Regions from separate parts of the Homo sapiens genome. Here regions 1 and 3 are each linked to region 2. Evidence: promoter capture Hi-C in 16 types of primary human blood cells and fetal thymus (Javierre and others, 2016). All regions are on one chromosome and are shown on one strand. Each heading gives the region's core, a stretch centred on a gene start or on the middle of the fragment in contact. The rest is flanking DNA. Distances are from core to core; before and after follow the strand shown.

Region 1 (2,700 bases), core at 176-2,675, 180 kb after region 2:
CACGGTCTCAGAAAGTCCTTGACAACATGTCCCCAAGATGGTCGGGGCACAGCTTGGTTTGTAAATATATATAAAAGCTATGGCTTATCAATATATGTAAAAAGCACATTGGTTCCATCCAGAAAGGCTGGACAACTCGAAGCAGGTGGGTGCTTCAAGTTGTCCCACCTTTCCAGACCAAACCAATGTAGTTCTTTATACATATTAATTGATGTTTCATGTCTGTCTAAAATGTATAAAATCAAGCTGTGCCCTGAACACCTGCGGCACATGTTGTCAGGACATCCTGAGGCTGTGCCACCGGTATTCATCCTCAACCTTGGCAAAACAAACTTTCTAAATTAACTGAGACCTGGCTGGGCACGGTGGCTCACGCCTGTAATCCCAGCACTTTGAAAGGCTGAGGCAGGCGGATCACCCGAGATGAGGAGTCCAAGACTAGCCTGGCCAACATGGCGAAACCTCGTCTCTACTAAAAATACAAAACTTAGCTGGGCATGGTGGCAGATGCCTGTAATCCCAGCTACTTGCTTGGTAGGCCGAGGCAGGAGAATCGCTTGAACCTGGGAGGTGGAGATTACAGTGAGCGGAGATTGTGCCATTGCACTCCAGTCTGGGCGACAGAGCAAAACTCCCTCTAAAAATGAAAGAAAGGAAGGGAAGGGAAGGGAAGGGAAGGGAGGGGAAGGGAAGGGAAGGGAAGGGAAGGGGAAAGAAAGGAAGAAAGAAAGAAAGAAAGACAGACCTGTCTCGGATTTTCTGGAACTTGTCTCACATTTTCTGGGTTCACAGGAGGAATCTCAGATAAGACTGTTTTAAAGCTGAGCTCAGCCATGGATTTGTGCCATTAAATACCTATGAGTTGGGTGATCCTCTCCCCTTGAGGTTCCAAAGTAAACTTGGGGCTCCTGGGCCTGTCAGAAAGTGACATTCTTTACCTACCACAGGTGGACAAAACTATGAGTCCAGTTTCCCAAGTGGCTTTATTGGCTCCATAAATCAAGTTTGATTCCTTAAAGGAAAGCATACCATTCAAGTTAAAGCTTTGGTAAAATAACCAGTTTCTCCAACTGTGTCCTGTTACAAATGAAAACAGATTATTATTGTGTTGGGAACCGAAAGCCTGAGGGTTGTGACCCACTCAGCATTCCACTGAAGGCTATATGATCAAACAGCAAACTGTTTATCATGAATACAGAATGTGAGCAAACTTGCATCTGTGCCTGCCGCCAGAAGGTATGCTGAGAGTAATCACTCCCTGGTGCCGTGCTCCTTGAGGTTATCTACTGGGACATCTGGAGCCTACTGTTCAAATAATGCAGTCATGCAGACCTGCACTAAGTCAAGCAGCTGACCACAACCATCCCCTTCTCCCTATCTCCTTTACTCAATAAATATGAAGGACTCTAAAAGCTCAGGGCCCTTGTTCACTAGAAGCAAGGAGTCCCCTGACCCCCTTCTTCAAAACATACTCTTCAGTCTTTGTCTTTATTCCCGCCTTGGTCCTCCTTTGTTCAGTCCAGCAAGGTCCACAGCAAAGTGCTGCCCGAAAACAGGGTCTTGAGGACATGAACAAAGAAGGTCTGCTGGAGCAGAGGAAGTGAAATTGACCAGATGAACAGGGACCCTGGGATGAATCTGCTGGCAGTGGATATAAGGTCAGTGCTCTAAAGAAGTACTGGGAATGGGAATTTTCTGAATCAGGGTAACATGGGGCAGAATTTGTCTCTTGAAGAAAAACATTATGTGCAGTTGCTTAAAGTTCTGTTGAAATAGCCTGGGGCTCAAGTTAATTAGCAAACATTAACTAAGCTTCTGCAGGAGGTTATTATGCATAACCCATGGTTTCTGCAGGCAGGCAATCTTGATGTGGAAAATTGGGACAGAATAGGAGAAGGATTGAAACGGGCTCATCAAAAAGGTCTTAAAGTAGACCCTTCTGTTTTTTCTGCCTGGGGTTTGGTTTGCACAATCCTACTGCTGCTGTCTCCTTCTAATTCTGTCGGACAACAGGAGTCAGGTTCTGAGTCTCAAGAATTAAAAAGATTATTTATTCCTCTGACAGCGCCTATTGAAAATAATGAGCAGGAGAAAGGGGAGGAGATTTGGCCACTTGCTACGCAGGAAAAAGGAGAGGAGAACTGGCCTCCGCCACCCCCTCCAATAACAGAAGCAGAAACCCCCATATAAAAAATGTTGCGTGCTGCTGCTATGGCTGGTGAACCTTTAGGACCTTGCGCTTTTCCTATTACTGTAAGGCCTGATCTGAATGACCTACAACATCTTTTACATGAACACACTCTTGTAGAGTTTAAATTATAAAAGAATTAAAAGCTAGCGTGGTTAATAATAGAGGGCAAAGCCCATTTACTATAGGGCTGTTAGAATCAGTGTTTGGAGCCATGTGCCTTCCACCCTTTGATATAAAACATTTGGCTCACACTCGCTTATCCGCCAGTGCGTATCTGACATGGAGTTTAAATTGGCAAGAAATGTGAGCAGACCAGGCTAGGCAGAATTGCACCGCTGGTCAAGGACACATTACAGAGGAAATGCTAACATGTAGTGGCCCCTTTTCAGATCTGGTATAACAATTAACACTCCCAGAGGCCACTTACCACCAGTCTGCCTTAGCCACCAAATGTGTCTGGAGCACAATTCCTGAAGAGAGAGTTCCAGTGCAGACTTTTCCACATGTTA
Region 2 (2,700 bases), core at 78-2,577:
GTATTGATAATGGAAAAGCAGTCCCTTTCATTCTTAACAGTCATTTGGGAATGACTGGGGGACTTTTCAAACCTTGAAGAATTGGCATTGCTAAGAGTTAAGGTGGACGAGGCTTTTTAAGGTGGCTCTAATCCTCTAATTAAATCCTTCTAATTAATGAATCATCACTATATAAACCTCTCTGTTGGGACCTTACTTTCTCAAGTTCAGATTCTATTAGAGAAATAAATTTACAATCACAGGGAAAGGTTTTAGGGACTGAGTTCCCTTCGCTAGAACGTATAGTAATTGTGGGCTTATTTGCCTGAAAAGTTGATTTAGGACTACCTTCACGCAGTATCCAGGGTTATTAGTGAAAGATGCTATCTGCCTGGGACTTTCACAGTGGACTTAAGTTTCAGGTGATACTAGGGCTGAGAGGCAAATTTTACTAGAACCTCTCCTTTTGCATGTTATCGCAACAGGAAATTTTAGTAGGAGATTCACAGGATGCACTGGTTTGTTTCGGGGTGTGGAATTGAAGTTGACTTATCTTGGTTTTAGTTCTAAGACCCTAAGGTAGGAAGATCTGAATTATACTGGAGAGAAGGGCAGCATGGAAATTTTATGGAGGAACTACAGGCTTACCTTTCAGGTTATCGAGTATCTGCTAGCGATTTCAAGTGGCCTTTTGCCAATATAGGAGTTAAGCAAATCTCAAGCCCACAGAAATACGTGAATAGCAAAAGGACCAGGGGACATTTTGAGAGGAGTCAGTGGGCCAGAGACGGCAAAAAGTTATTGCTGAGGTCCTAAGCACAGTCGGTGTTACGATCTCAGATGTGAGACGTGAACGGCGCCCAGGCCGGATAGCTTGTTCCCATTCCATTGATCTGAGATAACCCCAACGGAGGCAGTGTCCCATACTTGGGTAGGGGTCCCGAGTCTCCACAGCCAGAGATCAAAGGAGTTTTCTGGCAGGCGAGAAATTACCAGCAGATATTCCCGCGCGGGATGTAGGCTTTAATTTAGAAATCTCCGCCCCAAAACTGGCATCTTGAACGCGGGAGGGCATTATGAGTTAGAGGCCCCGGTTTTTCTCCATTTATCCAAATCAGGTAGCCGAAAGGTAAATGAGGCTTCAAGTTGGGCGGCGGGCAGCGAACTTGACAGAACCTCGAAACTCTGCAGATCCGCCGCCCAACCCAGCCGCCAGCTCCCCGTGACTTCCGCTTTCGGTCTCAACTCCTCTCCCTGAGGAGAGTGGTTTAAACGGTGAAGGCTGCGGGGCGTCGCCGGAAGTGTCGTAAACGTCGGATATCCGGTTCTTCTGGGCGCTAAGGGAGCTGACGGAGAGGGCCACCGCCCAGCAATAGACGGTGCCTCAGCCTGCCGAGCCGCAGTTTCCGTGGTGTGAGTGAGTCCGGGCCCGTGTCCCCTCTCCCGCCGCCGCCATGGGCTGCACGTTGAGCGCCGAAGACAAGGCGGCAGTGGAGCGAAGCAAGATGATCGACCGCAACTTACGGGAGGACGGGGAAAAAGCGGCCAAAGAAGTGAAGCTGCTGCTACTCGGTGAGGGGCTGGAGGCGGGGACTGAGTGGTGGTCGGGAGAGCCTAGGCGCTTGGAAGGCCTGAACGGGGTCTGGTCGGGCCGACGGAAAGGACCCTAAAGGGATCTGGAGGGCGTGCCGGGCGTGGGGCGGGGTGTTGGGGTTCCTAGCTGAGGCCCCAGAGGGCGTGATGAGGGGGGTGGGGTTTTGGGGTTGCGGGAATTAGGCTGTAGAGGGTGTGACTCCGGGCTAGAATTGCGTTTAGCAGAGAGACTTGGGAGTATGGGCCGGTAGATGTTGAGGGAGTAGGAATATGGGAAAAGCTCATAAAGGAAGAGTTGATACTAGGAAGGTTTTACGTTGGGTTGGAGCGTGTTGGTAACGAGAACGGCATAGAGTATATGTTGGGCTTGTATAATGGTTTGTGAGTTTGGAGCGTCGTGGTTCTTTGGCAGGATAAAGCTAGCAGGCTTGAATGGATGGTACAGAGACTGGAACAGAATGGTCACATAAGGACGTTGACATTTGTTAGTAAGAGAGCCATTTGAACTGTTGGAAGAACCCTGGATTATCCAGGAACATGAAGATAGGTAGGTGAGATAAATGACAAGTTATCAGGTATAAAGGAAAAGAGCTTGGGTGCAGAGGCCATCTCTACTTTTCCACCGTTTCCTATCATTTTTATTTTCAAAGTTTTATAACGTCTTCTTCTGTTTTTACAAAAGGATGGGAAATGGTGTGAGCTGAAGAAATTTAAAGAATGATTTCTTTGAGGTTTGTAGCAGAAGATCTAGTGAACAAGAGATTACACATTGGAGGATGCTGAATAGTTGCTATAGATGATGTGTAGTTGGAATAGTTACCTTAGGATAAGTTACAGAGTTGGACATATTCACTGTAAAGACTATGGTAGACTTCTGGTGGCTGTTTTATCCTTTTTGGCCTCTTCAAAGCAAAACCATTGACTTCAGGAATTACTGTTTATGTTATTTGATAGTCGTTTTAATTGGCTTTTTTTAAACACAGTCGGATGTATTTTACTCAACATGAGTTTCAAAATTTTTGAGAGGCTCAGTAAATCATACAAAGAATACTGGCATTAGCTTACTAATAAATCAAGCCACATTTCTTCATTATTAGTGAAGATTTTCTAGGGTAGTATTTCCATTAT
Region 3 (2,700 bases), core at 178-2,677, 240 kb after region 2:
CAGTGTGGATCCTGGGGAAGGAAAAGGGACTCAGACTCTGACCGCAAGGGGTGGACCTGAAGCCCCAGCAAACTGTCAGCCATCCTCTGCCATCCTTGAAGTCAGCCCCCAGAAGATGCATGTGGCCTGTGTGGTGCTCTGGTTGGCACAGGACACTCAGCCTTCTGACCACGTGGGAGCAGTTATCCACAGGTGCCACCTCAGTGGGAACGGGTCAGCGTCCTGGTTCTCCTGGCCAAGGTGCAGAAGTTGGAGCCTCTACCTCCCCCTCCACTTTTTGAGTACATGAGACCTGGAGGTTCTTGGGCAATTTGAAAGGAGAGGAAGATTCCAGAGGAAGGTATGTTTTTCTTTCAAGTATAGTAAATTAGGTCTGGATGGTTTTAATTGAAATTATACAAATCGAAGAAATGCAATAGTATTTGTACCTCCAATATCTGCTATCACTCAGTGGTCACAAAAACATCAGTTCCTATTTATCAAAAGCTTATGGTATGCCAGGTCTCCCATTTACATTGTTTTATTTAATCTTCAGGACAAGGTAGGTACTTTCTGTCACCATTTTACAGATGAGAAAACTGAGGCTCTCTACAGAGAGGTTAACTAACTTTCCCAAAGTCACACAGATAGCAAAGCTGTGGATTGGGCTTATAACCCACATGTCTTTCACTCCAAAGTCCTTCGACCACAAGGTCCACTCTATTGCTCTGTCTGGGGGTTCTCTGAATCTGTGGGGACCCCAGAAGATATGGACCTGCAGGGAGAAGCCATGGGATCTGGAGGCCCAAGGCCTAAGGAGACCGTGGGGCCTCCTTCAGGTAACTGTCTTCGGCAGCAGCTGCATCCCATTACACTGTGGACAGCAGTCTTTAGAAAGCCACCTTCTCCTGGGCTGCAAAGGAACAGGGTGACCACAGCCTATGAACCCTTGGGGCCCCTTGAGTTCCCACTGCCTGCCCGGCAGGGTTTCACAAACGCATTGACATTGATGTTGACAGGGCAGCCTGTGTGGAGGGTGCAGGAAGCCCAGAGGCCTGTGGCTGCCAGCATTGCTCAGAGTTTCCGCTGAGCTCTTCCTGCAGGGCCCTCCTCAGGGCTCTGCTAGCCAGCGCCCCCTGTCTTGAGGCCTTCGTGGACCCCAGCTGGCTCTGAGACAAGCTCAACTGACTCCAGGGCCTCTGAAGGGCTAGGAAGGCCCCATTTTCTGGGTGCCGAGCCTTGGGTTAGCTTCAGAGGCCCTGGTGATAGCCTCAGGATATCTGAAGGTTTCTTAGGACCAACGCCACCAGGTGGGACAGAGGCAGTGCTACTTCCAGTCAGAAGATCCAAGTTCCACTCTCAGATCCAACACTCGCTGGTTCTGCAACCTCAGGCGGGTGTCTTTCCCTCACCGAATTCCCTCCCCTATCTACCTCACAGGGCTGTTTAAAACCCTTGGCAACAGGAAAACACTCGGCCAGTATTGGTGGCCCTAGTAAGGCTGTGGGCTGACTGTGGGCCTGCCCCTAATTGGTCTTCTCACCTGGAAACTCAGCGAAGAGGCTGGACTTATGGGTTCCAGAAGAGGGGCAGGGCATTCCAGGAGGAGAGAGGGCTGAGCCCAGGCACAGAGTTCAGAACACACAGGAAAGAATTGAGCTCTGTGCCAGAAACTGTTCTAAGCATTTTACACATAATAACTCATTTACCTCTCTCATCGTTCCCATGAGGTAGGCATTACTTCACCCCATTTTACAGATGAGGCAATGGAGGCACAGAGGGGTAAAGTAACTTGCTCAAGATCCCATCGCTAGAAGTGGGGAGCCAAGATTTGGACCTGGGCAGTCTGGGAGGAGACCACCAGTGGAGGCAGCGGTGGTGGGACTGGAAAGGTTGGGAGAAACGCCAGGGACTGGGCCGCATCTGCCCTGCTCACTGCTGCAAGGCCAGCGCCCAGAGCAGTGCTTAGCACATAGTAGGTGTTCTTAGCCTGTTCCTGATACATGAGCTCCGCAGGTGTGGCTACCTTGCTTGTCTGGGGACGCTGACATTTCACACAACACAGAGAGGTTGGGGTTGCTGCCTCTGCCTTTGGGCTGAGATTCAGCCCTTTTCAGTGGGGCTATTGGACCCCTACAGCGGGAGGGCCCCTTGTAGGAAGGCAGAAATTTAAAATCGTTCCTTAATCTCCCTTTGGCCCCCTCCTGTTAGGGCCAGCCTCGCCTCCTGTACCTCCCTGGGGAGTGTTTTTAGCTCCCAGAACTTGGGATCCAGGTGGGCTGGGGGGCTGGGGGAATGCAGACAAACGGAGAAGCATGTTCGCTGCCGGCAGAGGCTGCTGAGAGACCAGCCTGTTTGCATGGCTGGAGCGCTGGGGGCTGGTGAGAAAGGAAGCTTCCTACTCTGCAGCACTCAGACCCCACTAGGAATGTGGCTTGGGGCCAGGATCCCTCTGGGCAAGAAAGGATGACTCAGCAGAAACAGCGTCCTGGCCCCACAGGACAACTGGAGCCGCTGCCCTGGGGGCTGGTACCAAGTGGCAGAGCTGCTGAATTAATGACCCCTCCACCTCAGCTTCATCTCCACCCTCCTACACCTCATCCCCCACTCCCACTCTCCCAGGCCTCCTTTAGAAGCCGTTCTCTGGGCTGGGGTTTTAAGACTCTCAGAGTGGCAAGACCTGGCCCCCTCCAGAAACTTTCAGACGGAATTGGGAGGCGC

What was found. Contacts are between HindIII fragments. The CHiCAGO score rates a contact against its expected background, and 5 or more counts as called.
Region 1: a contact is called between a fragment that was not itself captured here and the fragment with the promoter of GNAI3 in region 2, in 1 of 17 cell types (M1 macrophages). The highest score is 5.3, in M1 macrophages.
Region 3: a fragment that was not itself captured here is called in contact with the fragment with the promoter of GNAI3 in region 2 in 14 of 17 cell types (naive CD8 T cells, non-activated CD4 T cells, erythroblasts and 11 more); the score reaches 11.3 in naive CD8 T cells.

The regions. Positions count from the first base shown.
Region 1 is chr1:109,724,411-109,727,110 of GRCh38, forward strand. No RefSeq gene overlaps it. Among named protein-coding and RNA genes, the nearest start is that of GSTM5, 14 kb to the left of the region's middle. The HindIII fragment of the contact is 769 bases long and covers 1,042-1,810 here.
Region 2 is chr1:109,547,288-109,549,987 of GRCh38, forward strand. GNAI3 (G protein subunit alpha i3) reads left to right here and starts at 1,328. Exons shown (of 9, transcript NM_006496.4): 1 at 1,328-1,551. The coding sequence starts at 1,434. RefSeq lists enhancers at 855-914, 1,445-1,614. The HindIII fragment of the contact is 6,158 bases long and covers 1-2,700 here.
Region 3 is chr1:109,789,905-109,792,604 of GRCh38, forward strand. No RefSeq gene overlaps it. Among named protein-coding and RNA genes, the nearest start is that of EPS8L3, 27 kb to the left of the region's middle. RefSeq lists an enhancer at 1,256-1,315. The HindIII fragment of the contact is 1,887 bases long and covers 485-2,371 here.